2 separate regions of the Homo sapiens genome follow, and region 2 is linked to region 1. Evidence: promoter capture Hi-C in human tissues and cell types (Jung and others, 2019). All regions are on one chromosome and are shown on one strand. Each heading gives the region's core, a stretch centred on a gene start or on the middle of the fragment in contact. The rest is flanking DNA. Distances are from core to core; before and after follow the strand shown. Region 1 holds the start of MPV17 (mitochondrial inner membrane protein MPV17). Region 2 overlaps ZNF512 (zinc finger protein 512).

What was found. The method cuts DNA at HindIII sites, captures the fragments that hold promoters and counts their contacts. A contact is called where the count stands out against the background at its distance.
Region 2: a fragment that was not itself captured here is called in contact with the fragment with the promoter of MPV17 in region 1 in 3 of the 25 tissues and cell types used here (adrenal gland, spleen and stomach).

What each region holds. Positions count from the first base shown.
Region 1 is chr2:27,321,648-27,324,347 of GRCh38, reverse strand. MPV17 (mitochondrial inner membrane protein MPV17) reads left to right here and starts at 1,251. Exons shown (of 8, transcript NM_002437.5): 1 at 1,251-1,296; 2 at 1,826-1,900. The coding sequence starts at 1,831. RefSeq lists enhancers at 442-1,414, 1,537-1,596, 1,647-1,696, 1,707-1,796, 1,807-1,856. The HindIII fragment of the contact is 20,851 bases long and covers 1-1,556 here.
Region 2 is chr2:27,619,764-27,622,463 of GRCh38, reverse strand. ZNF512 (zinc finger protein 512) reads right to left here. Exons shown (of 14, transcript NM_032434.4): 14 at 1-1,311. The coding sequence ends at 1,003. Among named protein-coding and RNA genes, the nearest start is that of CCDC121, 7.9 kb to the left of the region's middle. The HindIII fragment of the contact is 6,428 bases long and covers 1-2,700 here.

The DNA.
Region 1 (2,700 bases), core at 2-2,501:
GGTGGTGCTGGGGATTTGAACTCAGTCTAACTTCAGAATATAACTTTACAGCCTACCACATTTGGTCTCCTATTACATTTACTTTTGTCAGTTCACTCCTCTAGCATGCTGTTTTGCAAATAGCATTTTAGTTAAATGTTTGTGACATTGACTTCTCTTGCTTCCTTACTCTGTTTCTCCAGGATTTGTGGCAGGAGTCTCCCTGCCTTAATCATAAAGGAATTGAGTAAATTGGGGGTGGAGCTGGGCAGGTGGAGAGCCTGAAAGAGTGTGCCTCCTGACGTGTGGGCTCCCTGGAGATAAGTAAAGCCTGCCAGCCTGACAAGTCCATTGCCAGGGATATTGTAGACATTTCCAACGCTCTAGAAAGGATATTGCTCTATATTCACAGACTCTTAGAATGTTAGAGCTGGAAGGGGATTAAGAAATCACCTAGCTTACTGGTTTTCAAACATGCAGTTGTGGGCCCCGTTAAAAATGGGTCTTTTGAGAAGTATATACTTGGAAAAAAAAGTTGGAGAAGCAGCTGTAGTAATGCTGCCCCTCTCATCCCCACACACAAACATCTGAAAAATCCCTAGAACTGAGGAGCCGAGTTTGGAAAGTCAATAGTGTAACCTCCCTCATTTTACAGATGCAGAGCCTTAACATCAAGTCTAGTCATGACCAAGGCTGCACAGCCCGTTAGTTTGGGAGCCAATACCTAATGTCTTCTGAGGTTCTAATTCCAATGCTTTCTGTGGAAGAATCATACATACGCAGTATTTCTTAAGTGGCTGTTTGCGGCAAAGCACTGAAATAGTTGCTATGAGGACGACAAATATGAACGACCCCAGTTTTACCCACTCATGAGCTCACAGTTGAGGCCAGTGAAGAACCTAGAGACAAAACACGCACTTAACTATAACTTATAGTTCCCTAACTACGATTGCTGAGACAAGGATCGTAGTTATGGCCAGTTATGCGGGGAGGGTGGGCTGAACAATGAGACTACCGGATTGAGAGAGGCCCGGGTCTCGCGCGGAGAGAAGGGGCAGGAGGAGGCAGAGGGTCGAACTTAGGTGAGAAATATGGCTGGCGGGCCCCACACCAGGGTCCGGCACAGTCCAGCTGGAAAAGGGGTCTCTCACAGAGTGGGTGGCCGAGTTAGGCCGCTCTCCACGGGTATTCATGGCTCGGTCCACCCCCATTCCTGTCCTGGCTGCGTAATCCGAAGGACGCTGGGAGGAAGGGGCGGGACTTGTGGCGGAAGTTCCTAGGCCAGCCTGTCACGTGGGAGGGAGGCTCGGCGCTCAGGTGAGTGGCGGGTGATCTGCGGTCTCTGGCTTAAAGCGTCGCAAGCCATGAGTGCCCACAAGGTGTGTGGTCATCCTATATCCGGGCAGTGACGGGCCCTATTTTCGGTTTGGAGCTGGACTCAGGAAGGTTACAAACTGGTTCCAACCAAGTCTGAATCTGGAGACGGACCAAGCTATCTTTTGAGGCACCCAAGCTCTGGGTAGAAGCCAGAGCAAAGCTGTCCTCATGAGTGTCTCCGTCGGGAACGGAGGCTTCCAGGTGGTCTGGCTTCAGGAATGAGGTTGGGGTGGCTGGTGGCTGCTACCAGGAGTCCATAGCTTCCCACAGCCTTTCTCTCTTCCCCAATTGTCTAAGGCGACTCCTGCGACAGGAAGCTGTCTGGGAAGCATCCTTCATGTGGCCTCTGCCCCTTTAAGTCACATTGGAAGTGGGAAGGGGAAGGGAGTGGGCACAAGGGAATGTCAGGCGGCTTCTTAGTCGTGGAGAGGGACGGTGGGGGTGACCCCCTCTCCTCTTGGCTTGACAGGAAGCATGGCACTCTGGCGGGCATACCAGCGGGCCCTGGCCGCTCACCCGTGGAAAGTACAGGTCCTGACAGCTGGTGAGTGTCCCTCTAGGACTTGAGTGGGACCAGGGCAGACTGATTTGGAAGCCAGAGGCTTGCCCCACTGCACCACCCTCACTTCCTGTTTCTATTCGGCTCTCTTGAAGGGTTGGCTGTCTTTCATCCTACACTGTCCCCAGTCTGTTTTGGAGGGTGGTCCCCAAGGCTGTTTTTAAGGGGTATGCGTAGTTGGCCAAGCTGTGCAGTAGGGTTTTAGGATTTCAAAGTCCTCAAAAAGCTGAACAGTCAGCCCTGAAGGATAAAGGCATTGCCCCAGGAGGCCTCAACTTGGAAAACATTTTACCGTATGCAAAGCACTTTCATATACGTTATGGCATAGGGCCCCCACAAAGGTGTGTGAGCTAGGAGGGTTACTTGAGTCCACATTAGATCACACCTAATAAGTGCTGAATCAAGACTCTTACCCCAGTTTTTCTTGGTATTTTTTATTGTGAAACATACAAAAGAATGATTAAGATGTGTATGTACAGTTTAAATGGCATTAAAACTGAACACTCCTGTGTCAGTAATCAGCTTTGAGACCTCTTGAGTGCCTCTCCGTAATTCACCCAAAATTTCCTGAGTTTTGTTTATATCGTTCATTTGCTTTTGTTATCATTTACTGCCTAAATATGTATCTCCAAGGTTAGTATATTGGTATCTGATCACTCCATCCTGATCCATTTGGAGTGATCAGATACCAGTCACTCCAAATGCAGTGATTGAGTACTAACCTCACAGAGGTAATGCAGTGACCTACCTGCATTTGTTACCATCTTCATTTTGCAAGTTAGCTA
Region 2 (2,700 bases), core at 42-2,541, 300 kb before region 1:
TCAGAAAATTCAAAAAGACAGAGGTTGGCTAAGGGGATGGGTGGAAACAGTGGGGCGTAGACTAACAAGTAAGGTAAAGTCCAGGGAGAAGGAATGCGCACCTTGGTTTTCCCTTAGTGGCACTACCAGGAGCACTAGGAGACTGTCAAAACATCAGGGGCAATGTGATATTTCTCAATTCTTAAAACCAAAGAAGCAAAAATAAGCTTCAGAGGGCAAGTGATCATAGCTATGGATGAGGCCTCGGGCTCCAGGAAAGTTGGGGCAGTATTTATTGCTGCTTCTACTTTCTCTTTCCTGTCATTTTAATGTTTGGGTCACTTTACTCCTAAGGTTGCTTTTCATGTCTGTGGGTCTAGTCACTGCTACTTGGTACAAAGCATTTCCCAGTATAAACAGCATAGGGTAGTTCTAGAGTTTTCATCCTAAATCCGTTTTCTTACTTTCAATCTTAAAACCATATTGAGAGGACAAACAGCCTCCATAAAGTTTTTTTCCCAAGGAGACAGAGTAATCTTATTATGTGAATGACAACAGTTCTAACTTCTAGACTTGTTATATCACAAATACAAAATGACAAATCAGTTATGGTTTTAAAAAATTAGTTTGGAATGGTTTCACAAGCTAGATGATGGAGCAGCTACTAAATCAATGGAGCTTCCAAGAACATTCTATACCCCAGGAAGGAAAGGACAACCAAAGAGGTTTCTTAGTTTTGTACAGGGCAAGAGGAGCCTATAGTTGGCCTTGAGAGGGAGCTCTTTGGGCAAGATAAAAAAACAAGAGGACTTGACGAGGAATAGCAGGAAAACCTACTAAAAGGGGAGGGGGGAATCAAAATGTAAGAAGGGAAGACAGTGAAATTTACACAGGAGGAAGGAGCTGAGAAAGTCACAGCCTTACACAAACAGCTGAAAGAATCTTCACTCAGTCCTCCCAGCACAGGTCCCCGTGACAACAGCATCACATCTGCTTTCCTAGGAGCACTTTTACACTGACTGCCTATTTCCTTCCTCGTTTATGATTAGTCTTTGGGGGCTTTACTTTCTGGAACTGTGCTGGCACTGGCTCCTGCTCTGGTTCCTTACAGGAGGCTGACACTACCAGTTCCTCATTATTCCTCCTCTGATCCTTCCCTACTCTAAGACTCAGCTCTGTCTCGGGAAGCTCAATGCCAGGCTGCTGCCGCCTTCTTAGAGACCTTCTGCTCCTGTGCTGCTGCCTCCGCTTTTCTTCTTCTTGCTGCCGCTGCTTTATCTTCATCAGCTTTTCAAAGCTTTTGGTTGTTGTTGGGTTTACAACGAACCAGTCCTAGAGAGGCAAAATAGAAATGTCATCCAGTCGAAAATATAGTGAAGAACATAAAGAAAGGTGGAGGAAGAATGGAAAAAAGGCATGATTAGGGCAGAACACAGTAAGAAGGAAACAGATATGGAACCATACCTCAGGATTCTATATTTTAAGATGGAGAAATCCAACACAGAGCAGCTATTACAAGCACATATTTTGTAAGGCGTAATTCTAGGGACTTTAATAAATGATCTACAAAGTCTGTTTACTTAGCATCATCCCACTCTTATATCTCCTGAGTATAAATCTCATCATGAGATGTAACACACTGAGCCATAGGAGATTTTTATTCCATGACGGCATCGTAACTAAGAGCATAAATTTTGCAGCCAGACCCCCTGGGTGCAAATCCCAGCTCTGTTTCTAGATACGTGACCATGGGCGAATTACTTAACATTTTCGAGGCTCACTTTAAAAAATTAAGGGGTAGGGGACATGAAATCCAATTATGAAGTATTTTTGCCAAAAAAGAAAGAACTTCAATCTTATCAAGTGATCTGTTCAATCTTCTAAATCTACCAATTCATAGGAAAAGCCAGAATAGGGAGTTGAGCCCAATCTCTCTGCCCCACTGCAAGACTCCACTGCAGTGGTCCCTGTACCTCAAAAACAAACAACAACAACAAAAAGCAAAAAAGGAAATGGCCAGAATACAGGAATACTATCATAGGGTGCAATCAGCAAAATTCCAGAATGTGGGTACATGTATGTGACAAGTGATCCGGTTTCTTCAATAAATGGCAAATTTGTAAAAAAGAAGAGGAAGCTTTTAGTCTTGCACCATGCAATGAGATAGCCACTAGCCACATATGGTAAGTGATGTGTTTAAATGTGAGTAGAACAAATTAAGATATGCTTTCATGTAAAATATACAACAAATCTCAAAGACTTGTTATGAAAAAAATGTAAAATATCTCAATAATTTATTGATTTAATGTTAAAAATAATTTTAGATATATTGGGCTTAATAATTATTAACATTAATTTCATCTTTTAAAATACTTTTTTAATGTGGCTACTAGAAAATTTTAAATTATATACATGGCTCACAGTACTTTTTTTGGATAGTGCTGCTCTAGATTAAAACAAACAAATGCAATATTTAGACCTTGTTTTAGATCCTAATTTGAAAAATCAACTCTGAAAAAACATTATAAGATAATCAGGGAAATTTAAATAATAACTAGACATATGATAATATTAAAATTCTTAACTTTTTTAGGTATAATGATGTTTGTGGTCATATGTTTTCAAAAGTCCTTATCTCTTACAGATATATATTGAAAGAAGCACTTACAGCTGAAATTTTATGTGGAATTTGCTTTAAAGTAAGCCTTTAAGGGAGGAGAA